Regions from separate parts of the Homo sapiens genome. Here all the other regions are linked to region 5. Evidence: promoter capture Hi-C in human tissues and cell types (Jung and others, 2019). All regions are on one chromosome and are shown on one strand. The core of a region is centred on a gene start or on the middle of the fragment in contact, and the rest is flanking DNA. Distances in the headings are between cores, read along the strand shown. Region 1 overlaps SUGCT (succinyl-CoA:glutarate-CoA transferase). Region 2 has its middle 50 kb from the start of LINC01450. Region 3 overlaps SUGCT (succinyl-CoA:glutarate-CoA transferase). Region 4 overlaps SUGCT (succinyl-CoA:glutarate-CoA transferase). Region 5 holds the start of INHBA (inhibin subunit beta A). Region 6 has its middle 25 kb from the start of LINC01449. Region 7 has its middle 72 kb from the start of LINC01450.

Evidence for each region. Contacts are between HindIII fragments. The study calls those that stand out against the background at their distance.
Region 1: a contact is called between a fragment that was not itself captured here and the fragment with the promoter of INHBA in region 5, in 1 of the 25 tissues and cell types used here (lymphoblastoid cells).
Region 2: a contact is called between a fragment that was not itself captured here and the fragment with the promoter of INHBA in region 5, in 1 of the 25 tissues and cell types used here (mesenchymal stem cells).
Region 3: a fragment that was not itself captured here is called in contact with the fragment with the promoter of INHBA in region 5 in 2 of the 25 tissues and cell types used here (dorsolateral prefrontal cortex and lymphoblastoid cells).
Region 4: a contact is called between a fragment that was not itself captured here and the fragment with the promoter of INHBA in region 5, in 4 of the 25 tissues and cell types used here (IMR-90 fibroblasts, heart left ventricle, lymphoblastoid cells and 1 more).
Region 6: a contact is called between a fragment that was not itself captured here and the fragment with the promoter of INHBA in region 5, in 1 of the 25 tissues and cell types used here (lymphoblastoid cells).
Region 7: a fragment that was not itself captured here is called in contact with the fragment with the promoter of INHBA in region 5 in 2 of the 25 tissues and cell types used here (lymphoblastoid cells and mesenchymal stem cells).

Annotation. Positions count from the first base shown.
Region 1 is chr7:40,793,012-40,797,036 of GRCh38, forward strand. The region is part of intron 13 of SUGCT (succinyl-CoA:glutarate-CoA transferase); the gene reads left to right. Among named protein-coding and RNA genes, the nearest start is that of LINC01450, 180 kb to the right of the region's middle. The HindIII fragment of the contact is 4,719 bases long and covers 1-3,784 here.
Region 2 is chr7:40,928,526-40,932,040 of GRCh38, forward strand. It overlaps a transcript of SUGCT not described here. Among named protein-coding and RNA genes, the nearest start is that of LINC01450, 50 kb to the right of the region's middle. The HindIII fragment of the contact is 4,629 bases long and covers 1-3,515 here.
Region 3 is chr7:40,757,880-40,761,874 of GRCh38, forward strand. The region is part of intron 13 of SUGCT (succinyl-CoA:glutarate-CoA transferase); the gene reads left to right. Among named protein-coding and RNA genes, the nearest start is that of SUGCT-AS1, 210 kb to the left of the region's middle. The HindIII fragment of the contact is 9,992 bases long and covers 1-3,995 here.
Region 4 is chr7:40,857,329-40,860,854 of GRCh38, forward strand. It overlaps SUGCT (succinyl-CoA:glutarate-CoA transferase), which reads left to right. Exons shown (of 14, transcript NM_001193313.2): 14 at 2,988-3,435. The coding sequence ends at 3,151. LOC105375242 (a long non-coding RNA gene) reads right to left here. Exons shown (of 3, transcript XR_927191.3): 3 at 1,103-2,804. Among named protein-coding and RNA genes, the nearest start is that of LINC01450, 120 kb to the right of the region's middle. The HindIII fragment of the contact is 4,060 bases long and covers 51-3,526 here.
Region 5 is chr7:41,701,724-41,705,188 of GRCh38, forward strand. It overlaps INHBA (inhibin subunit beta A), which reads right to left and starts at 1,367. Exons shown (of 3, transcript NM_002192.4): 1 at 1,282-1,367. All of the region lies in intron 1 of INHBA-AS1 (INHBA antisense RNA 1), which reads left to right. RefSeq lists an enhancer at 3,408-3,465. The HindIII fragment of the contact is 9,174 bases long and covers 1-3,465 here.
Region 6 is chr7:41,075,225-41,078,742 of GRCh38, forward strand. No RefSeq gene overlaps it. Among named protein-coding and RNA genes, the nearest start is that of LINC01449, 25 kb to the right of the region's middle. The HindIII fragment of the contact is 9,838 bases long and covers 1-3,518 here.
Region 7 is chr7:40,905,912-40,909,623 of GRCh38, forward strand. It overlaps a transcript of SUGCT not described here. Among named protein-coding and RNA genes, the nearest start is that of LINC01450, 72 kb to the right of the region's middle. The HindIII fragment of the contact is 4,375 bases long and covers 1-3,620 here.

The DNA of each region.
Region 1 (4,025 bases), core at 175-2,674, 910 kb before region 5:
TATTTAGGACGCATTGTCTTAGACTATCTCCATACAACATTCATATATGCCTTGTTTTAGCTGATTTTTAAAGCCATAATTAGATTTCATGAGTTACTGGATTTGCCTGCATTATACTTATAAATTTGATTCTAGATGGAATTTCTGGTTGATTTTCTAAGGCACACATCTCTGGGTTTGCAGAAGAGGTGGAATGGAGGGGTGGCAACAAAAATTGGAATTTGCGTCTTTGATGTGGTAAATAGTCAGCCAAGCTCACTACTCCTGTCCCTAGAGACTGCACTTCAGAAATGATGAGTGATTACTCTTAATTTTAATGACATTCTTTCTCTAGTTAGTCATTTCATTGGTCAGCTTCTGATACTTTTTACTTTGTTTTCATAGTTATAGGATATTATACAAGACTATTTGCATTGACTAGTAACATCTATGCTTGTGGCTGCATTCTTGCTGTTGAGAAGTCAGCGTTCTAACTGTTGTTACTTCATAGGTAATCTTTTCTCTTTCTCCTTCGACTTTTAAATTTAAATTTTTGTCTTGGACTTTATTTTTTGCTGTTATTGTTTACTTGTTAGTTTTGTTTTTGCAGTTTTACTAAAAATGTAAGATGTATCTAGGTATGGATTTATTTATATTTTTATTATCTTGTTTATAATTTGTTTGACTTTTTGAATCTGAGAAGTCATGTCTGTCAACAGTTCTGGAAGATTCTTCAAATGTTGATAGTCTCTTTTCTCCTTCTAGAACTCCAGTTAGCTGTATGTTAACCCTGATTACTTTATCTTTCATGTCTTTTAACTTTCATATTTTTAAAGTCTGATTATTATCTTCAGTTCTGTTTGGCAGTTCACTTAATGTCTCTTCAGCTGTATCTAATCTGCTGTTTGCAGTTTGCTAAATGTCTCTTCATCTGTATCTATACTGTTTAACCTTTCCATTGAGTTTTTAAATTAATGATTTACTTATTTCTAAAAGTTATGTTTTCACATGTTATTCTTATAGAGTGATTTTTTTTCTTATAACTTTGATTCTTCCTTTTTAAAACGTTTATATGTTGGATTTGATAATCTAATAGCTGAACTATTTAAGGATCTGATTCTTTCATTTATTTGTTTTGCTTTCTCTAGTTCATGGTAATTTATTTCCAGGTATGTTTAATATGTTTTGTTCCTTGGAACTTTACCTGTCAGAATTCTTTGAGGTCCAGCTCAAGAGCATATTCCTTCGTGTTTGTTTCTGATAGACACCTATGATACTTCAAACTAACAACTTTTTTAGCTACATTTCACCTTATAATGTTTGTTACTCTCAAAGTGGTGTGAATTCAGGCTATAAATCTGTATGAGGTCTGACTTATGGTTAAATTCTCAAGGAAATTATTTTATCACCCTCCATGCTGTGTCAGGGTTCTTGCCATTGTTCCATGAGATGTATTTTATTTATAGTTCACCATTTCACTGAGGTTATAACATTTTGGGAAGCCCAGCTTTATGGAGGGATCACAAATATGACTCCTCATCTTGTACAACCCTTAAGCTAGGTTTTCTGTTCTTCCTGTGGTCATTTATACCACAGCTATAAGTCAGAAAGTATTGACAGATGCTCCTGGGGAAGCTGCTAGCTTCGGAACTCATTTAATATTTTACCATTTGCTGTGTGTACTGGATCCTCCCCACTCTCCTCCTGCCTTCCGGAAAGATTTTTTATTTATTTTTTATCAATGTAGCCATACATTTAAAATATTTTAAATCTGTATCCTAACATTTTTTTAATGTCCTGCGTCGAGAAGATATTTTCAGGATAGTTAGTCCACCATATTTCCATAAATAGAAGTTTTGTGTTCTTTTTAAAACTTAAGAAAAACAACTTCATTCTTCAATTTTTATTTCATGCCACAGACATTTTGAGCAATCAGATAATACAAGAATTTATGGGAATTTTAATAAACATCTTTTTCAATATGCTAATATATTTCTGGTGAGTAAATATACACCTGGAATAGCGCTTCCCAAAGTAAATGTTCCATAGAACACTAATTGTAGTTACATGATAAAATAAGCTTGGGAAACACTGGGTTAAGCAAACTTACAGATTTCCTTCTTGAATAAATTGCATGATGTATAATACACCAGTGGGCTCAAGCATCTTTGAGAGTAGGATAACTTATACCCCTGTCTTCCCAGAGGTGCACTGAAAGAAAGCTGGCTTAGACATAAAATGACTTCCCCAAAGCCATAGAGGTAGTTAGCAGAGAGCCAAGACAAGAACCCAGTTCTCCTCACACTCCCTTTCTCTTTATTACCACAATGAAACATTTTGTAAATAGCTACTTGCAAAACTATTTCCAGTAGGACCCCATCCTCAAATTGAAATGTGTTTAAAGCCCATCTTCTTTCACCAAATAAATGAAAGTTGGCTTCTCTCCTAAAAACAGCTAAATAGGAATGTTCCAGAAGTTCTTCAAAATAAAATCTTCACGAAAAAGAACTTCTAGAAGTTCTTCAAGAAAAATAAAATCTTAAGTAGAAAAGCAGGGGTTCCATATCTTGAACTGAAGTCAAAAATTGATGCTTTTGTGGGGCTTCAATCCGCATCGACACAGAGATATAATAATCCTGTCTGATTGTTAAGAGGGCTTGTATTCTCTTGAAAATCATAGTTTCTAGTTGGCAAGGAGCAAACTCCCAAGAACAAGTTGTGACAGAAAACTAAAAAAAAACTACTTTTGGATTTCAACCAGCAGAATGTGCATAGTTTCTGACTGTTAGTGTATTCTTCCCCCTATTACGGAAAATGGACTATGGGAACTTGGGAAGGTGAAGTGCAATGTTATTTACATTTTTGTGCCAAAACATTATGAAGTGAAATGGTCAAACATGCTGAGAGAATGCAGCATATGAAAATTAATAGGAACATTTTGAATATGTGATCTTTTACTTGAAATAATATAAATGAAAAGGGTTCTGTGGAGGTACTTTCTTGACCTCTTTTAAATGTTTCTTTTTCTTTCTTTCTTTTTAAACACTCTCAATTGTTTATAATAACCCATTTGGATCCTAGACCTCAAAGTTCTTTCCTTTCAGAATTTCCTTTTCTCTGTTTGTCTGTGTACAACAAATACCTTTCAGGAAAAAAAAACCACACAGTGTGTTGAGCCCACTAAATAGTCAGTAAAAGATGTCTAATAGCATCTAGAAGTAGGAAACGAGATGAGTATTGGGTTGGGGATCTGAGTGTTGGTGTCCCATTTAGTCATCAATCCATGAAAACAAGTGATTATATGCAAAGGTATTCAAAAGGGATGAGAACACTGATATGGTAAGGAGAGAACTTCTGACTGAAAGCTAGAGAGTGACCTGGACATTTCTGAGAAGATGCTTGGGAGGATGGCAACTTGGTAGACTTCATACTAACAAGAAGCATATTAGAGAATTAACGATGATGAGGAAAAGGAGAAGGAAGAGAAGAAGGAGGAATATTGAGCTTTTATTCTCTGTTAGGTACCAGGTTAAGCACTGGCCATATATGATTGTATTATCACATCGGGACCCCGAAAGCTAGGAGGCAGCTTCCATCATCATTCCTGTTTTATAAGTGAGGCTTAGAGAACTAAAGTAACTTGTTTGAGATTTTATATCATACATAGCAGACCAGAGATTTGAACCCAACTTTTTCTGATATCACACCCTGGTCTTCATCACTAAGCTATATTGCCTTCTATATCAGGTGTGGCTACAGGTTGCATCTTTTTATGTCTTAGATATTGTGGAGAAAATATTTGACTTTATGCTGTTAATCTAGACCAGTGAAAGTTTGGAGCCAACTGATAGCTCCAGAAATTTGGCCCTGAGGCAGTGCCCAAAAGAGTGGATGACAGTTAGTGAAGGTCAGCCCGAGATGAGACAAGGCAGGTCCCTGAGGAGAAGCCAGGCACAATCTGAAAGCTGAATGTCCAAAGAGCAAGGCAGGGTAAGGCCAGGGTTGACTGGGATATGAACAAAGTATAAAGTGGGTCAGGGCAATTC
Region 2 (3,515 bases), core at 713-3,212, 770 kb before region 5:
TGTTCTTTCAGTTTTTGTTTCACATTTTTAATGTAAAGTATCCCAGCATTTGTTTCTTTGAGGACAGTAAAACTCTAATTTTTTTTTTTTTTGAGACGGAGTCTTGCTCCATCTCCCAGGCTGGAGTGCAGTGGCGTGATCTCGGCTCACTACAACCTCTGCCTCCTAGGTTCAAGCAATTCTCCTGCCTCAGCCTCCTGAATAGCTGGGACTACAGGCACGCACCACCATGACCAGCTAATTTTTGTATTTTCAGTAGAGACTGGGATTTCACCATGTTGGCCAGGATGGTCTTGATCTCTTGACCTTGTGCTCCGCCCACCTTGGCCTCCCAAAGTGCTGGGATTACAGGCATGAGCCACCCTGCCCGGCAAAACTCTACTTTTTCCTTTTTCTTTTTCTTTCTTTCTTCCTATCTAAAATTGTACTTTAAGTTCTAGGGTACATGTGCACAATGTGCAAGTTTGTTACATAGGTATACATGTGCCATGTTGGTTTTCTGCACCCATCAACTTGTCATTTACGTTAGGTATTTCTCTTAATGCTATCCTTCCCCCAGCCCGCCACCCCCTGACAGGCCCCGGTGTGTGATGTTACCCACCCTGTTCTCATTGTTCAATTCCCACCTATGAGTGAGAACATGCGGTGTTTGGTTTTCTGTCCTTGTGATAGTTTGCTGAGAATGATGGTTTCCAGCTTCATCCATGTCTCTGCAAGGGACATGAACTCATTCTTTTTTATGGCTCCATAGTATTCCATGGTGTATATGTGCCACATTTTCTTAATCCAGTCTATCATTGATAGGCACTTGGGTTGGTTCCAAGTCTTTGCTGTTGTGAATAATGCCGCAATAAACACACGTGTGCATGTGTCTTTATAGAAGCATGATTTATAACCCTTTGGGTATATACCCAGTAATGGGATCGCTGGGTCAAATGGTATTTCTAGTTCTAGATCCTTGAGGAATCGCCTCACTGTCTTCCACAATGGTAGAACTAATTTACACTCCCACCAACAGTGTAAAAGTGTCACTATTTCTCCACACCCTTTCCAGCATCTGTTTCCTGACTTTTTAATGATTGCCATTCTAACTGGTGTGAGATGGTATCTCACTGTGGTTCTGATTTGCATTTCTCTCATGACCAGTGATGATGAGCATTTTTTCATGTGTCTCTTGGCTGCATAAATGTCTTCTTTTGAGAACTGTCTGTTCATATCCTTCACCCACTTTTTGATGAGGTTGTTTGTTTTTTCTTGTAAATTTGTTTAAGTTCTTTGTAGATTCTGGATATTAGCCCTTTGTCAGATGGGTAGATTGCAAAAATTTTCTCCCATTCTGTAGGTTGCCTATTCACTCTGATGGTAGTTTCTTTTGCTGTGCAGAAGCTCTTTAGTTTAATTAGATCCCATTTGTCAATTTTGGCTTTTGTTGCCATTGCTTTTGGTGTTTTAGTCATGAAGTCCTTGCCCATGCCTATGTCCTGAATGGTATTGCCTAGGTTTTCTTCTAGTGTTTTTATGGTTTTAGGTCTAACATTTAAGTCTTTAATCCATCTTGAATTAATTTTTGTATAAGGTGTAAAGAAGGGTACCAGTTTCAGCTTTCTACATATGGCTAGCCAGTTTTCCCAGCACCATTTATTAAATAGGGAATCCTTTCCCCATTTCTTGTTTTTGTCAGGTTTGTCAAAGAACAGACAGTTGTAGATGAGTGGTGTTATTTCTGAGGCCTCTGTTCTGTTCCATTGGTCTGTATATCTGTTTTGATACCAGTACCATGCTGTTTTGGTTACTGTAGCCTTATAGTATTGTTTGAAGTTAAGTAGCGTGATGCCTCCAGCTTTGTTGTTTTTGCTTAGGATTGTCTTGGCTATGCAGGCTCTTTTTTGGTTCTATATGAACTTTAAAGTAGTTTTTTCCAATTCTGTGAAGAAAGTCATTGGTAGCTTGATGGGGATGGCATTGAATCTATAAATTACCTTGGGCAGTATGGCCATTTCCATGATATTGATTCTTCCTATCCATGAGCATGGAGTGTTCTTCCATTTGTTTGTGTCCTCTTTTATTTTGTTGAGCAGTGGTTTGTAGTTCTCCTTGAAGAGGTCCTTCACATCCCTTGTAAGTTGGATTCCTAGATATTTTATTCTCTTTGAAGCAATTGTGAATGGGAGCTCACTCATGATTTGGCTCTCTGTTTGTCTGTTATTGGTGTATAGGAATGCCTGTGATTTTTGCACATTGATTTTGTATCCTGAGACTTTGCTGAAGTTGCTTATCAGCTTAAGGAGATTTTGGGCTGAGATGATGGAGTTTTCTAAATATACAATCATGTCACTTGCAAACAGGGACGATTTGACTTCCTCTTTTCCTAAATGAATGCACTTTATTTCTTTCTCTTGCCTGATTACCCAGGCCAGAACTTCCAACACTCTGTTGAATAGGAGTGGTGAGAGAGGGCATCCCTGTCTTGTGCCAGTTTTCAAAGGGAATGCTTCCAGTTTTTGGCCATTCAGTATGATACTGGCTGTGGGTTTGTCATAAATAGCTCTTATTGTTTTGAGATACATTCCATCCATACCTACTTTATTGAGAGTTTTTAGCATGAAGGGCAGTTGAATTTTGTCAAAGGCCTTTTCTGCATCTATTAAGATAATCATGTGGTTATTATCATTGGTTCTGTTTATATGATGGATTACATTTATTGATTTACATATGTTGAACCAGCCTTGCATCCCAGGGATAAAACTGACTTGATTGTGGTGGATAAGCTTTTTGATGTGCTGCTGGATTCAGTTTGCCAGTATTTTATTGAGGATTTTCACATCAATGTTCATCAGAGATATTGGTCTAAAATTCTCTTTTTTTGTTGTATCTCTGCCCGGCTTTGGTATCAGGATGATGCTGGCCTCATAAAATGAGTTAGGAAGGATTCCCTCTTTTTCTATTGATTGGAATAGTTTCAGAAGGAATGGTACCATCTCCTCTTTGTAGTTTTGCTAGAATTCGGCTGTAAATCTGTCTGGTCCTGGACTTTTTTTGGTTGATAGGCTATTAATTATTGCCTCAATTTCACAGCCTGTTATTGGTCTATTCAGAGATTCAACTTCTTCCTGGTTTAGTCTTGGGAGGGTGTACATGTCCAGGAATTTATCCATTTCTTCTAGATTTTCTAGTTTATTTGCATAGAGGTCTTTATAGTATTCTCTGATGGTGGTTTGTATTTCTGTGGGATCAGTGGTGATATCTGCTTTATCATTTTTTATTGCATCTATTTGATTCTTCTCTCTTTTATTCCTTATTAGTCTTGCTAGCAGTCTATCAATTTTGTTGATCTTTTCAAAAAACCAGCTCCTGGATTCATTGATTTTTTGAAGGGTTTTTTTGTGTCTCTATCTCCTTCAGTTCTGTTCTGATCTTAGTTGTTTCTTGCCTTCTGCTAGCTTTTGAATGTGTTTGCTCTTGCTTCTCTAGTTCTTTTCATTGTAATGTTAGGATGTCAATTTTAGATCTTTCCT
Region 3 (3,995 bases), core at 110-2,609, 940 kb before region 5:
ACTGAGTGCACAAAAAAGTCTTTCTGGATCAACTTTAAGTACTGACTTTACGATAAGCATTTAGGGAATAAATTAATCAAATTTAATTAGACATGTAAACTGATTAGAGAAGTAAAAACAAATATCTTACAATAGCTAAATACAAAAGTTTTAAAATTATCTACCAGTTTGGACTTCAGTATCATGGCGTTAACTTGGAGAATCAAGAAGTGACATTATCTTTGCCTCCAAGTGGCTTCAGCTAGGAGTGAGTTGCTTGGCTTTATGGTTGGGTTTATTCATGGTTGGACAGGGAGTCATTTTAATCCTTTCTCAAAGAGGAGTGGCTTTGCTTTCCTTCAGCATTACCAAGAAGGGACTTCTTGGTGCATGAAGAGATAAATTGGGCTGAATTTCATGGAATTTTTTTTTTAATGATCAGTCTTTAAGATGTCAAGAAGTATTCTGATTAAGAAGACTTAGATAAAATATTTATCTTTACTAAGCCAGATGGAGCAAGCCACCTTTTTATTTAAAATGATTGTAGTTTAATTTTGACTAAGCATACAATGTTATGATAATATTAAAAAGATGTTGGTGGAGATAAAGAAATGGTAGTAAAGGGGTTAAAGAAAAACCTTCAGATACCTTACTATAATCAATAGGAAATGTATCATATCCCATTTTTCATATCATCCCCAAACCTTCAGGATTTGGGGGCACTGAGCTAGGTATGTGGGCCTTATTGCTTCTCTCCTCAGCTGGAGCGAATCTTATTTGTCCTGTATGTATCAGCTTTAATGAAACCACATCTTCATGTTGTCATATCTTTATCTGGGTATGGCATTAACAGTCAGCATGTCTCAGTGTTCCTCCTTTGAGTAAGATGTTCTAATACCACATAGGAAGGGGGGCCCGAGGGACCTTGAAATGCTTCCCTAATTTGCCCTTTATCTGAACATTGTGTAAGTCAGAATGGGCTGTGTGCCTCTTGGAGTGGGTTGCCAATTAGTCTAATCTGCTTACAACCCTTGTGTCTGTTTGAAATGTTCCTAAGAGCTCTAAATCCTGGGTTATTTCAAGAAGCCGTAAGCATTTCAAACAGTTAAGCAAAAACCAAATTTTAATCAAATTAAAAATGAAAAAAATTAATAGCAGGACATTTTGGGCATTTGAGGCGTGGATGTGGTCAAATAAAAGTACCAAGAAGATGCTGCAGCCACAAAAACTAAAGAAGCACTACCCTCCGTAGACTTAAAGAATATCTGCAACAGAGACTAATTCTGCTTTCTCTTTGTTGCTGGGCCTTCAAGTTCATGTGTGACCTTAAATAACTGACCTCAGCTTCTAGTGCCTTGTTTTCTTGTTCTAATGGGATTAGTCTTTTCATCCTTTTAATTTAATGGAAAAATGCAATTCACTGTGCTGCATTTAACTATATTTTGTGAATAGGTTTTAATGGCATAATTGCTGTGGAGCATTCAAATTTGAGAGGAGGGAATGTAAGTAAATAAACATCTGCTTAATACTTGTCTATATATGGTATATATATGAATACTTTATATACACCATTTGTTTCTTCTCTGGGACAATTCAGTAAACCATATTACTATGTCCATTTTACAGATAAGAAAATAGAGATTTGCTTAATGTTGCTATACCAACCAATGTTAGTGTTGCAATTCAAACCCAGCTCTGGGTGTATCTTTAATCTGTCCTCTTTTCTCTATTTACTATTATCTCCTAAAGTTGAGCCAAAAAGGGAAGTTGAACCAACTATTGAGTTTTTTTTTTTACCTTACTTACATTAGTCTCTAATTTAAAGACTGCTGGATATATTTTAAATGTTTTATTTGAAGATCAGTTGACATTTATTTAAATAATATTTACATTTTAAGAATTTAAAGTTAGATTCAGCCTATTTTGGGATTACCTGTTTTGGGATTACCTATTTTGGGATTACGTGGGTTTTTTTGTTGTTGTTGTTTTTGTTTTTTTAACAAAGTCTGTAATTGTGTTTCTATTAAAAAAAAAAGCAGCAGCAGCCATCAGAAAATGTATTGTTAGGCCATTTTAATATTCTCAAGAGTATATAAGTGTAAATGCACCAAAACATGTGGACTACATTTCCCGCTAGTTGTACTGTTTTCACACATTAACAGAAATGCTGTTTGGAAGGGGAATAAAGGAGATATGTTTGGGATATATATGCAGATTTCAATCATCAAAAGACCCAAGATATTAAGCTGCCTCCTGGAATCACCCAGAATTTTTGTCTTTCCAGTGATCTCTGTGGCCATGGTGCTGTGTGGGCAAATTTCCTCTTGCTGACCTGGGGCTGGTTTTATTTCAAAGTTACAGCCTGATTCCTCAGAGCAGCATTAATTAAACTGCAAACAATGTTGTGTTGGTATAATAGAGTTAAGATGATTTTTCTTCCCCAAGCATGTGGTTGATACTATGGCCAGAAAAGTTTAAAAGTAAATTAGTGACAAATACTGCGTGATTCCATATAAGGTACTTAGAGTAGTCAAGGTCATAGACACAGAAAGTAGAATAGTGATTGTCAGGGGCTGGAGGGAGAGGGGTATGGCCAGTTAGTGTTTACAGAATACAGAGTTTCACTTTGGGAAGATGACAAAGTTCTGGAGATGGATGGCATAATAGTTGCACAACAATGTGAATGTACTTAGTGCCACTAAAGTGTACGCTTAAAAATGGTCAAAATGGTAAATTTCATGCTATATACATTTTCAGCTACAACAAAAATATGATTCATAAAAATATTAATTAACTTCTATGATGTTTTCATGTGTACATGTAGAATGCATGTGTGGTGTGCATACAAAATAGGCTAGAATGGAGAGCATGTAGGCTTAGTCACCGAGACCTGAGCTCAAAGCCTGGTTTTGCAATTTATGTTTGGAGATCATTGACAGGCTGTCTCACGTATTTCAGTGGCAGCTTTCTTATCTGTGACAGGAAGACCAAATACTCACTGCAACTTATAATAATTAAATAATAATAAATGTCCAGTGCTCAGCACATAGAAGGATTAAGTGGAAACACAGTATAGATAGTTAATAAACTCGTAGCTTCATCTACAGTAACAAGTAGTCTTGGGGAAAAATAAAACTAGCCACATCATTAATTTTTCAACCATTAAACCTTGAAACAATCACGCATGTTTCTCTAAGAAATAACATAAAACAAATCATCCTTTCGTTTAACAAATGTTTATCCAGTGTTTACTCTGTGCCAAGTCCTGGCTGACAAGAAGCACTGTGTAATGGGGCATGTGACAGTGACCAGTCAAATAAGACACAGTGAGGACTGGGAGATCCTGAGGCTGCCACTGCCAGATGGACGTGAGGCTAAACTGGCCCCTTTGTTTGTTTTCCAAGTAGGAGCTCTTGGATAAATATTTTGTGTATAAAGTCAATGGAGACCACGCAGTGTGAAAGCCTCCTCCAAAATCATTATTTTCAGACAGTTCATGCAGGTGAAAATAATGCAGAGGTCATAGATAACACTGTAACAGCTTAATTATGGGAAATTAGAGAGGGGCCCATGATAGAGCACAGCATTTCCTAAATGTTCCTTGCCTAGAGGACCCTAGTTTTCTGAAATAGTAATAGTTGTCCCACCACAAAATGACCCTTTTGTCAAACAACTTTGGGAAACCTGCATTAGGCAAAGGTCAGTGAATTTTCTTTACTTTGACATTTCTCAGAAGCATTGATAGTCTGAAATGTGTTTGCCTAAGAGGGAGATATCGAAGACCATCTTTCCTGCAGTTATTTGACAGCAGAGCCCTTTTTCCCTCAGAGCGCTTATTAACATCCTGTGGAAAAGTGATTTTTGGGTCACCCCACTAGGAACATGTGTCCCTTGGAGCCACATGAGACAAGTTGTAATGGTCATTTACTGGAGAAATTGGCTGGATTGTGCTAACAAAGGGAGAGGAAACCAAATAAGAAAACTGACCGTCCTCCGAGGGTCAGGATTTTCTTTTG
Region 4 (3,526 bases), core at 831-3,330, 840 kb before region 5:
GTTGCAAGAACAGATTTCAAATGGCTCATGGGAATTTAGCTTTCTCTGAGATCTTGACATCACTTTATTTGTCCCGTTGCAGTCTATGTCTTCATCCTAGCAAGTGTGAAAAAGTTGCCAGGTAATACCATTTTACCAACCTAAATTCTTGAAGATATTTTATGCAAAAGGTTAAATACTCTTCATTCTAAACTGGTAGCATAGTCTTCAGTGTAGATCTGGAAGCTACCAGAAAAGTATGGCATACAGTGGGAGGAACACAAGTTGAACTGCCCTTTAGTTTGGCTGGACCTGAAGAATTCCCTCATTCGATCACTGTGTGGAGGTTAAAAGTCCAGGCGCTTAGTACTGATATGCACAATATGGATGAATCTCAAAAATATTATGTTAAGTGAAAGAAGCCAGACACAAAAAGTCACAAATTATATATGATGCTATTTATAAGGAGTAGCCAGAATAGATAAATCCATAGGGACAAAAAGTAGATTAATGGTTGCCTGGATTTGGGAGGAATGAGGAGAAGCTGCTTGATCACTTTAAAATGGTTAATTTTATGTTATGTTAAGTTTTATCTCAATAAATTATTATTATTTTTTAATCCAAGTTGTTGAACCCAACAGACGTGAAATTGGAATCTAACTCTATCATTTTCTAGCTGTGTGAATTTGGGCAAGTTATTTTAATTTCCTAACCTTAATCCTAACTTTAACATTTAAACCTCCATTTCCTTCAATGTCCTAATCTGGAAATAAAGATGACTGACAGTCTACCCAAACGACAGGACCGTTGTGAGAACTGTATGCAATGTTGTATTAATACATAAAGCCTTTGGTGCAGTGGTTGACGCATCACAAGTTCTTAAGAAATGGTAGCTGGGCCAGCCTGACCAACGTGGAGAAACCCCGTCTCTACTAAAAATACAAAATTAGCCGGGCATGGTGGTGCATGCCTGTAATCCCAGCTACTGGGGAGGCTGAGGCAGGAGAATTCCTTGAATCTGGGAGGCGGAGGTTGTGGTGAGCCAAGATCATGCCATTGCACTCCAGCCTGGGCAACAAGAGCAAAATTCCATCTCAAAAAAAAAAAAAAAAAAAAAAAAAAGAAAAGAAATGGTAGCTGGACTATGATAGCTATTACTACTACTGTCTTGCTTCAGGTAATTCAAGTGGAGTAAAGTCACATGACATTGACTTCAGGAGGCATATATTGCTTCAAGCAGTTCTTCTTTTGATAGACGGGTTTTAGATTAAAACTGTTTTTAATTAATATCAAAATGGAACAGAGTTGGAGAGAGCAATGAGTAAGGGTCAGATGCCTAAACCATCACATTATTGTCATTCTTGGGAGAGCTGTGGACCCTGCCTCCCAGTGTCTGCTATAGTTGATTTCTCTCTTACTGAAAAGGGACAAACCCTTGAAAAGGTAGTCATGCACTGGGGCATTTAAAAGAAAATGTGAGAAGAAAACGATGAATGTCACTAAGCTTCAGAGAAGGAAAAACTGTAGGCATCAGTTGAAAGTTGTCCCTCTGTAGTGGATTAGATGTGTTACACAAAGGTGCAGCTTGACGGTGTTAGGAGACCCAAGTCCTCCATCTCTGTCAACAGTGGCAAGTGCAAAAGTACTTTTATTAATGGAATTCTCCAAAGAGCTCAAAGCTCGTTTGCTGCTTTACTGATGGGCATTCTTTTACCCACTCATGCTTTGGTTTTATTTGTTCTTCCTATGGGCTCCTCAAATCAAGAGAAAGCCAGAAAAAAAAATTGAGATAGGAATATCCTGTTTTATCAAGTCTTCTTGTGACTACTATATCATTTGTTCTCCTGAAGCCTAATCAAATGAGACATAAAGGACAGCCAACATAAATACCACTTACTGAATGTGATAACAAAGGTAAAATTAGTTGAAACAACATGTTCCCCAGTGTCCAGCCTCTCCGTGGAAGAGTGAGAAGTCAGAAGTGGCTGCTGATGTTATGGAAAGTTCATGGCCTTTAATGGGAGACAGTTCCAGCGGACACAGATTTTCATCCAGGCCCTATGATTAGCTATGTGGCCTTGAGCAAAACTTTAGGTTTTAGGGGTTTTCATGTCCTCATGGGAAGAATGGGGATAGTAAAATCTATTTCCAACAGTTCTTAAAAGCATTGCTCAACTCTGTTTAGAGGAACTTTGTGCCCGGCACCCCTTTTCCCCTTACACTATAAGCTTCAAGAGAGATGTTGTGGCAGCTTTTGTAATCATAGTAACCAACAAGTTTTGTGCATTAGCATGGGTTAGGGAATGCTTACTTAGTGCTTTCTGTCTATGATCTCAATTAAATCCTTACCTGAAGTCTGTATAGTAAACATTATCACATCCAGATTATGGTGTGAAGTTCAGCAATTCATCCAAGATGGCTCTGCTAGAGAGCATAAGAGCGGAGAGCAAAGCCTAAGTCTCTCTGACAGTGAAGCCTGCACACATAACTTCTTCTACCACCAAAAGCCTTGAACCAGGGTCTAGCTGAGGTTTCGGTGATCTGCAGTCAGTTGAACTAAACCTTGGAACTACACAGTAGACATTGAGTAGTCAGCTGCTGGGTTGCTTTCACCTGGGATCAAATTTCCAGCTTCAGAGAGACACTACGTTTCTGTGGTCACTGTTCTTTCCTACCTAGAGTTCACTCAGTTGAGTGCCCTACCTCTGAGTCTTCATGACGGGAACACCAGCTTCCAAATAGGCCCGGCACAAATTAGCTTCATCCATGCAGCCCCACTGCATGGTGATGAGCGAGTCAGATGAGCACTGCACATTTGGATGAACCTGAGTCAAGAAAAGCCACATGTGAAAACACGTTTATTTCCAAAACGTTGATGCATCTGGAAGGGTGTAACTGGCACTCATTGATATTTTTGGCATTCATGGAAAACACCCCAGGCTGCTTAGGTAATTAATTTCGTAGGGTTAGTCATTAACAGGCTTCCTGCTTTCCTTCTCCTTTGGCAGGCCCAGCTGTGAGATACAGTAAGTTCAAGATGTCAGAGGCCAGGCCGCCCCCGCTGCTCGGGCAGCACACAACGCACATCCTGAAGGAGGTCCTGAGATACGATGACAGGGCCATCGGGGAGCTGCTCAGCGCTGGAGTGGTGGACCAACATGAAACTCACTGACAAAGGAAAAGGGCTCTTCCTCATAACCTCGATCCGAATACACTGGCAAAGGCAACACTTTGCTTGGACCCTTCTCCCCAGTTCTGATACCACTAAAAAGAAGATTTAGAGTAACTCCAGATTTCTTACATGGCATCTCCAGAATGGCTCTGGTATTAATGAATCTAGTGCCTTTTAAATGTATCCCACGTTTTGTTCCCTACCATCTTTTTTTTCAGATGATGATTTCATTATGGATTTGTGGGATTTTTAAAAATAAAGTTTTAATTTTTTTCCTGGAAAAATGCACTCCTTATTCTACTTACATTAATGTCCTAAACGTTTGCCCCTTACCCCCCATGCCCTCACCAGACCCCCCGCCCCGTCCATACAGGC
Region 5 (3,465 bases), core at 117-2,616:
TATGACTTGAATAACTGGTCCTATGGGAAAAGACTCTCTAAAATATATTGGCAAATTATTTTTCTCTGTCATGTGGTAGTTTTTTCAGCTTGCCCCAAGCCTGTCCCGACCAGTGCATTCATAGACAGCCTCCTTGACTGCTTCTTTTTCCCTCAAAGGAACAGTGCAGATGAAATCATCATGGATTTTAGTGTGCACAGAAAAAGAAAAATGTGAATTTTTTAACAATGCCTTTCTAAGGCTTAAAAAAAATTCTTCCCCCTCCCCTCTTTTTCATTTTCTGTCTTATTGCTTTTATCTTGCAGAAGAATCTTTAAGGGGTCCATCTGTTAAAGCGTTCCTTCCCTCTCGGTTTCTTTCCCACACATAAGCCCTCTTGGTTTCTGAAGATACACTCAGCTTATATCTGACACCTAGTGTGTTCATAGCATTACAGTCAAGCAATGCAGTTTAGGTGGAAAGAGTTAATAAATATCATTACTACAAGATAAGATCTGAGTGCAAGGGGAAGAGGGCAAGAAAATTGTGACACTAAGTTATAATTACAGTTTGCACAGGTTAACAATGCTTTCTGAATTATATATACTGTCCCCTTTTCCAAAACAACTATTTGTAAGACTTTTTCTGTTACAAGTAACCTAACACCTTTGGGGTTTCAGCTCCAGAAACATCAATTACTCCACCATTATTGTTAAAACTTTGTCAACATTGCCTAAAAAGCCTCATATTTTTTACGGGGATGGTGAAAGAGAATGGGGGAGGCAGGGGACATTTGTGTTACAATGGTTTTATAAAAAATCTTTGTGCTATAATACTTAACATCATCCACCTATTTGGAGTCACATATACAGTACCCAAAATGTTTTGCAGTTCAATTAAGTTTTACAAGAAAGTCTGAAATACAACCAAAAGTTTAATGGCTCTAAACAACTCAGGAGTCCTAATAGCAGCATTTAGATAAGTGCAACTTATCAATATTTGGATTCTCTCTGCATCTGAGTATGTGTGTGTTCCCTGAATTTACTGTTTGCGAATGTAACTCTTAAAAATAGCTTTCTCTTTGGCATATGTACTTGTATATATGTGCTGAGTGGCTTGTATAAACATATAATCTATTTGCATGCTCTAGGACTATTAAAAGCTGTATTAACCTGCCTGAATAATATAAAAAGGTACACATCACAATGCACATTGGAAATGCCAATTAGTTGTAAAATTCCTCCTAGCTTTCCTATCTTTGAATGTGTAAAGAGCTCAGAAGTAAGAGTTAAAAAGCATTACCTTTCTGGTCCCCACTCTTCCACCAGCCGGCTCTTGTATCATGTGGTAAGAGCTGTCTGAGCTCCTCTTCATGGTATTGGCACTGTGAAGTTTTATACTGTACTACTTATTTGTACACCACACATTGGTACCACTGAAACAGAGGAGGGCTGGGGCTTTGTTTGGGATTGGTTGGAATCAGCATGACATCAGCGGATGACTGGTTTTTCCAGTGTGAGACATTTCATAATTCATTATCTAATGGAAAGCCCTTCCTGGCTTCTGAGACACTACTGGGTGATGCACTGAGCCAGTGAAACCTCTGGCTAGGATTACTCTACCTTTTAGAAAAACATTGGAATCAAATAGATATGTCTCAATGAGTGTGTCCAACTTTCAACTTTTACTACTCGCACACACGTCTCGTTATATTCAGGTTCAGTTTTATGTCTTTACATAAAACATCTGTTACTTCATGAAGTTGCTTCTATTTACAAAGTATTTTATTGTTTCTTTCAGGAAAGAAAATTGGTAGTGTTCTTTATAGGGATTCTAATTTTATATTTTTAAAATAAGCTATTTCATTGAGGAAAAAAATTGGGAAAATCTGTATAATCATATGATGATGGTCTCCCCCGACCCCAACCAACTTACACTATTATTTTACATCTTGAAATTGAATGCCTGCTTCATAAATCAAGAACTTTGGAAATAGTAATTCTCTTTAAATGAACTTCATAAGTATCCTTCCCAGGTCTTTAGAATCTCATTCTAACTAACCAAACACACACACACACACACACACACACAACAACAACAACAACAAAAACCCTCATGCATCATTCTTTTTTACCAGAACTTCAACTCCTATAATTTCTAAATTGTTACAAATATAACAGCAGATTAATGAAAAGAAGTGAACACTCCTTGAAATAGGGGTAAAGCTGGTCAGGCTTTTTTTGTGGGGGAGGGGTGTTGGCAAGTCTGGTAAATAACACAGGAGGAAGGGGTCCTCTGACAAGAACGGTGAAGGGTTGTTTGAAGGACTACAGTTGAAGCATAAGCCCAGTTCTCATGACAAGTTGGATAAAATGTGCAAAATTGGGAGCTAATGAGAGCCATATGACCAGATATGTTGTTTTGTATGCAGGATTTAACATGCATAAAATAAACTTTTCACTGTGCCCACAAGCAAAATATAGAGGCTCTGGCCTCCTGATGTGTGGCTTAAGCAGGTTCCATTAGGACACCAGAAGTTTTCTGTGTAAAAGGGTCTCTCTTGGCTAGATACAGAGAAAGTGTGGGTGCTGAGCTGCATGGGGGTGGGGGGAAGGAGTATTCTAAGAACTGCATATGCAGAAATGAAGTAGGAAAAAAATCATTAGGTTGTAGAGGAAGAGAGTGAATCTGAGTGGCGAAGACAGAAATAGGATTAATGATGGTGAACTCCAAACCTGCCCCTCAGCTTAGCACTGGGTGAACTCAAACCCTTTATAAGAAAGAAACTTCTCCACCCTTTTTGCTGAGAATTAGTGGAGTCAATGACCTTCAGGGCATCTAAACTCACCCCTGACCCACACATGAACCCTAGTGTCCTGAAAACATCCCCTCCGCCTCCACACAAAGTAGTGTGTGTGTGTGTGTGTGTGTGTGTGTGTGTGTGTGTGTGTGTGTAGGTGACGTGGGGTGGGGGTGGGGGGCACAAAACAAACCCAGATCAGATCCCAGTTCCTCTGCTCACTCACCGTGTAAACTCAGGCCTCAGTGTTCCCATCTATAAAATGGGATCCATGATATGAACCTGTGGGGGTCAAGTGCAGCTGTCAGATAATAATAAGTGATACTATTTCTGAGAAGCCTGGTGGCTGTTCTTAAACATGGGTGTCACAGGAATCTGCAGCTCTCTGACCAGAGGAGCCACAACACAAGTGTGACTCTGAAACTCCGCTGGCCATCTGATGCCACCGAGTGCCCACCTGCCAGGCCAGCCTACCAGCCGTGCTGCAACCCCTCTGCAACCACCTGCACCACAGTGGCAATGCCTCCTCCCTCGGTGCAAATCAAGGTGGGGGTGGTGGAGGAAGCAGGCAGGTTAAAATAGCTTCTGTGGAATATTCTAGACTGGGAATCAGCTTTTCCCTGCGGAACTCAAGGGCCCGGGGCACAAGCTGGTCAGCCCAGTCCTGACCAGAATCTCCTTCTCCT
Region 6 (3,518 bases), core at 416-2,915, 630 kb before region 5:
CTAATTTTGAAAACCTAGAAAACTGAAGAAAACTAACTAAAAAGTTATTAGAAAGAATGATCTTTAATCAGAAGCTAGTTACAAAATTAAAATAAAAAAATCGATACCCTTTCTTTGTATAAACAATATCCAGTTAAAAAATAGACCAGGAAAACAGGTTTCCTCTGCAATAGAAAAATAGGAATGACACACTTTTAAATGTAAACTACTTATATATTAATATAAAGGACGTGAAAGAAAACTAAAATGCTAAACCAGATTATATCTTGGATCGGAATGCTTGATCTTGAAGATTCCTTCATTTATTCATTCAGTCACTCAGAAAATATTTATTGAGGGCCTATTGCATAAAAAACACCATTCTAGGTCTCAGGGAGTAGTGAACAAAATAGACAAAAGTCCCTGGCCTCATGGAGGGGGACCTAGTGAGGGGAGACAGACAGTCTACAAACTAAAAAATACATCATATGTTATGGTGTTCAGTGCTATGGGGAGATGTAAAGCAAGAAGACAGATTGATAGGACTGAAGAGTTGGATAAAGGTGTTTTTTGTTTTGTTTTGTTTTGTTTTGTTTTTTTAAACAGCATGGCCGGGGGCTGGTAAGGGAAGACCTCAGTGACAGGTGATATTTAAAGTTCTGACCAAAGGAAGTGAGGATGCAAGCCAGGTGGCTACCAGGGGGAAAAGCATTCCAGGCAGAGGGAATAGAAGATGCAAAATCCATAAAGAGGACGCAAGAGTTTAGAAAAAGGCAGGACTACTCATTTTAATAATCTTAACACCCCAAATATACAATTTTATTTATCTAAATTGCTCACAGCTTAGCTTGTATTTTTTCTGCTACGAAAATTAAGAAAGTAATATTAAACTTCATCTGGAAAAATCCAATGCTCAAAATTATGCAGAATAAGAGCAACAAGATAGTGTCAGTCAAATCGGACATTGACCATATCATGAAGTTATCATAACCATACATTTTTGTACTCGAGTAGATTATGTAAAAATGTGCATTTTAGTACTTAATAATTCTGGTATTGTAAATCAGTATTGAAAAGATAAAATAGTCAATAAATAATGTTGACAACTGGTTAGACATTTGAAACATAAATGAAATATTTGTGAATACCTGTGAGGTCTTATACCAAAATAAATTTCAGTTCTTTAAAAATATGTACACCTAAAAACAAATTTACAAAAGACCTAGAAGACAAGGAAATGTTTGTGTCAATATGTGTGTACATGTGTGTACAGGAGTGCAAAAAATCTTTATAAGCAGATATCCAAATCACGACCCTATCAAGGAAACGACTGAACAATAAAGTTAAAATTAACATATAGTAAAAATATGAAAAATAAAATTAAAAGACAAAATCTTAAAAAATATTAAAGCACTCATTGTTGACTTGAAATAGAAAGAACATTTAAAACATATATATGAAAAAATACAACCTGATAGAAACAGTGAAACAAATAGCAAAAGAATATGCAAAAACCTCTTCAAATCTACTTTAGATTAAAATATTCAAATGAAAAAATAAGAAATGACTTTCCATCTAGTAGATTTGCAAAAATAATTTAAAATCATTAATGATATTCAGAGCTGAGAGGAGAGTATGGGGAAATGAGAGTTGTATATTGATGCTGCATTTCCATAATACACATTTCTATAAAACTCCTATAGAAATTGAAATGTGTTTACCATTTGGTGAATTTGAGATTTGATGGAAATGGTGTACAATATTAACAATGTATATAATTGAAACAGAATAAAGATTTAAAACAGATTCAGAATTTAATATATAAAAAATAGGCTTTCAATTCAGTGAGGAAAAATCCTTTATTTAATAAATAATATTGGCTTAATTGGCCATTAATCTACACAAAAAGAAGGCTGGGATCTTCGCCTTACAGTGTATCAAAAATAATTCCAAATAGATTAAAATTTTAAATGCTAAAAATAAAAAAGTAATTCAAAAAACATATTATTTGACCATGCAATCCCACTGCCAGAAATTTATTATTAAGATACATTAAGAAAAATTTTCCAAGCATTTTCTATAAAAAAAAAAAAGACAGGAAATGTCCAAATGTCAGCCAATAGGAATCTAGCTGAATTTTTAAAACATACGTATATACAATAATTTTAAATATATAAAGCTATTTAAAAAAGAATGAGGCAGATCTGTGTTTACATGAGAAAAATCTCATAGCAGTTTAATTTGATGGAAAAAAGTATAAGTTAAAAACAGCATGCTTAATTTGTGTTTGTATAAGTTTTAAAATGCAGTTATACATAAACAATTATATGAATAATAAAATAATAATACTCAGCATTTACTCAATTGTTACTATGTGCCAGGTACTATTTTAAACACTTTACATGCATTGACTCTTAACAACTCTAAAAGATAGGTATTATCAACAGGCCCTGTGACCCAGAAAGTCAGAGTAATTTGCCCAGAGTCCTAGTAAGTGGTGTATGAGGATTCAAAACCAGGCAGTCTAACTCCACATCCTGCACTGTTAACCATTGCTATGCTATAGGTATGCATGCTGAACACCACACACACTTGATTATTTCTGGATACAAAAAAATTATTGGTTGTAGTTACCTGCAGTTGAAGAATAAAAGTTGGGTTCTGGAATATGGGGCACTTACAGTTATTTAATAGCTAACTTTCTGGGCTTGATTTTCTTAAAAAACCATATACAGGTTTTTACTTTTTTTTTATTATTAAACAAACTTAAAAAAAGAGAGAGAGAGAGAAAAAAAAAAGGAAGGGATCTCAAGCATCCTCAGGAACTCCAGGGAAAAATGACTCCAGCTGGCATAAACACCTCTTCATGGCACAGAGCGATGAAACTGGACTTCGCTGAACCTGAGAGCAGTGTGCCCTTTGCCTCTGCACTCCCTTTCCTGAGCTGGTGTATGGAACTGACTTGCTGGAGCAGAACCTGGGTGCCACTGTGTTGCATTTCCTATCAGCAAAGAGATCAGAGAAGGATGCTGTCCTCTTTATCATGTCTCTCCTATCGATCGATCAGGTTCTCTCCTTTTCTGTGTGCCCGACACCATGATACCCAGGAACTCGGACTGCCGCTAGACTCAGGACAAACAACAAAGCTGGGGATGCTCACTTATCATCCCCTGGGAAGGGAGGCCTGAGAGCTGGTACTGGTTGGCCAAGTTCCTGGCAGAGGGCCTTGGTTTCTCTGGCAGGGAAGAAGTCACCATACGTCTCCAGGCACTGGTTAGCTTGCTGCCTCCAAAGGAGTTAACTGTGTTCTTCACTAGAGGACTCAGGTGTCAAGCATGCTGGCAAGGTACTGGCTGCCACCTGAAACCTCCAGAAAGCTACATTGTTCTTTTCCAGGTTCTGAAAGAGAGAGTAAGAGAGGAATCCGGCCATTATTGTTGGGCCCCAGAGAAATAAAATCAGCCCTTCTGAAAATCCAATGTCAGTGTGAACTGATAAAGTACTTGGTGCAAAGGGAAAAATAAGAACTTAGTGGAGCT
Region 7 (3,712 bases), core at 183-2,682, 800 kb before region 5:
CTCACTATGTTGCCCACGCTGGTCTCAAACTCTTGGCCTCAAGTGATCTTTGCACTTCCGCCTTGGCCTCCCAAAGTGCTGGGATTACAGGCATGAGCCACTGCACCCTGCCATCATTTTAACCATTTTTAAGTGTATAATTCAGCGGTATTAACTGCATTCATACTGTTGTGCAACCATCATCACCATCCATTTCCAGAGCTGTTTTTTGTTTTTGTTTTTTGTTTTTTTTTTTGCATCAAACTTCTCAACAGTAAAGACCGTGGTGGAGAACATTTTTGATAAACTCAAGGATTTGATCCAAGGAGCTTATGAACCAATGCTATCCCTCAACAGAATTGAGCATGCACAACTCAGGTGATCCTGTACTCTGAAACTTTCTTTCCACAGAACTATTCAAGGAGAAAAGCTTCATCCAAATCAGAGAGAACTGGGGAAACATTGGCCAAAGGACTAATAGTGAGTCTTGGATATATTTAATTATGGATCCCAAACTAAAATAAACGTAGGAACAACGGTAGAAAAATAATGTGTAATTTTTTATTGTCCTGACAAGTATGTGGGCCCTCCATATCTGTGGGTTCCACATCTTCAGATTAAAACAACTACAGATAGAAAATATTTTTTAAATGCAACAATAAAAAAATACAAATAAAAACAATAGAGTATAATGACTGTTTACACAGCATTTACACTGTGTTAGGTACTATAAGTAGTCTAGAGGTGATTTAAAATATGCAAGAGGATGTGCGTAGGTTATATGCAAATACTAAGCCGTTTTATATAAAGGACTCGAACATCCTTGGAATTTGATATGGGAGGTGTTGTCCTGGAACCGATATCCCATGGATACCATGCCTATATAATAATACAACTTTAAAAACTGGGAGAAAGGAGAGAGGAGAAGTAGAATAAGCACATTGATTGCTGCATAGGAAATAGATGGGAATTATAATTTTTAAGAACGCTCTATAACTTAGAGTTGACAAACCAAATAACAAATCTTCCCAGAGAGGGAGCATTCCTTCAAGCATTGCTGGCCTCCCAGAGACTCAAGGAGGTGCTGTTGTTAAGAGTCATGAGCTTAGCTGGTGCTTCTTTGTCTCCATAATAGGATGGGGCTTCAGTTCAGGGTAGGAAGATGGAAGTAGGTTATACTTGTTAGGAGAAATATTTGTTCTGATAGTGTGTGTGTGTGTGTGTGTGTGTGTGTGTGTGTGTGTGTGTGTGAGAGAGAGAGAGAGAGAGAGAGAAGATTGAGTGGGGACTTGGGTTTCTGCCTCAGAATCATGAACTTCACTGACTTCTAAACTCTTTCTTAGCTCAGAAATGCAGTATCAATGTCCTGACTGAGCTCACCCACTACTGTGTTATGTGTCATATTCCCAGACAGAAATCAACATCCCTGAAACATAATTCTATAAGGGGTGGTGTGTAATCTAGTTTTTACCTTCCTGGGCTTTGAATTCCTGATTCTAATTGCAAGGCAAGGCCCATAAATAACAGGTATAATAATACTCGTTTAATATAGCCAACACTTACTGAGTTATCATTCTGTCAGGCGCTAGCCTTGTAAAGCAGTGCCTAAATGTAGTTAACATTTAACTGTTACTGGTTTTATATGCATTGCCTCATCTAACGCTCACAAAAGACCCTATGAAGTAGGTGTTATTACTCTTCCCATTTCACAGCTGAAAAAACTGAAACTGAGATTAAGTATATTGCCTAATATCACATGGTTAGCAAGTTACAGAAAGGCCTTGAATCCAGATTTGTTTAACATCACAGCCTGTTCGCTTAACCACTCTGTTAATTCTGGAGGGATCTTTAACTCAGAATTGCATAAAGATGAGGCAAGGCCGTTGACAATGCCTGAGACACACTGCATTATACAGCTGTAATCTAAGATAAGTTTGACATCATCCTCACCAAAATTGAGATATTGTAACAAGAAAAGTTTATTAATTTATTTATCTTATGAGGGGAGTCAATACTCACCTTTTAATTCTAAACATTAGTAAATAAGGATCCAGTTTCATTACTTACAATGTTTAAAAGTAATTATCTAGTTTTTTTTTTGTAAGATGTATATGCAGATTGGTAAGAAAAATACTCACATCCAACCTCAACCTAACAGAAAAATTGGAAAGGCATCACCAGGACAGCCATTTAAAAGTATGGACCGGCCGGGTGCGGTGGCTCGCAACCTGTAACCCCGGCACTTTGGGAGGCTGAGGCAGGCGGATCACGAGGTCAGGAGATCGAGACCATTCTGGCTAACACGGTGAAACCCCATCTCTACTAAAAAAAAAATACAAAAAATTAGCTGGGCGTGGTGGCGGGTGCCTGTAGTCCCAGCTACTCAGGAAGCTGAGGCAGGAGAATGGTGTGAACCTGGGAGGTGGAGCTTGCAGTGAGCTGAGATCACGCCACTGCATTCCAACCTGGGGCACAGAGCGAGACTCTGTCTCAAAAAAAAAAAAAAAAAAGGACCACAAGTAGATGAAGTTTACTAGAAATCAAAGACATACAAATTAAAACTTAATAATATACCACTTTATTCTATCAAATGGAAATATTTTTAAAATTAATAACACACAATGTTTAAAAAGTATGAGGAAAGAAAGGCAACATTAGAAATAATTCAAAGAGCAATTTGGCCAAATATATCATAAGCTTTAACATTTGCATAGGCTTTGATACAGCCCTTCTTTTCCTTAACCTAGGAATTTGTAATACCATATAATATAAAAAATATAAAAATAGTTAACAGCAGAATATATAGCTACCAGATTTTTCATAGTAATATTGAATCAGGGAATTGGTTAAATAAACTTTGGAAGATTCTTACAATTTAATACCATGTGGCTATTAAACACATTGGAATATCTGTAGCTGTAGAAAAGCATGATGACTTAGTAAAGAAAATACAACAACTTACAAAGTAATATGGATTTTATTGAGTTCTACATGTGTACATGCGCTTTTCTGTATGTATATTTAAATTTTTTTAAATGACCATGGATGGTATGGTTTTATTTTTGAAAAGTATACATAGATACATCATATGCAGAAGAAAATCTTCAGAATGGAATACTCTAAAATACCCCCAAGACTATCTCTGGGTGGTCATTTAAGGTTTTTTCCCCACTTTATTGTGATGTGCTTTTTCTACAATGCATGTATACTGCAAGCACAATCATAAAATTTTATTAAGTAAAAGAGAGTGGAGACCCAATCTGTTGTGGCAGAAATACAGTCTCAGCCATTTCCAAAATCAACAGTTCCTTCTCGGGTCACCTGGACTGGAGCTCTGCCAAGGACAGGCCAAGGTCTGGAAAACAGTAGATCACTTGGTGATCCTGGAAGAACCTGGGAGCCACGCTGCTGGACACTCGATGTTTGGTTTCTGAGTGCGACTGGTCCAAACAGTGCGTGCCTCCACCTGTCTCTTTGACTTACTGCTCTGAAGCATGGCTACATGTCACCCCGGGGTTCGCTAGGCTCCTGCTCATGGGCTGTGGGCCAATGTTTAGTTCCTGAAGGTGTTGTATTTTCTGACAGTCAAAATTGGTTGCTAGATGCAGTGAAACATGAATACAACTGAGGTGTGGGCTGCAGACCTTCCTTTGATGTCACAGGGAGGAGAGAACTACGGGGGAGGCTATTCTTAGACATTGGAGTTCTCCTTCACTAACGACGGCCTTTGCTT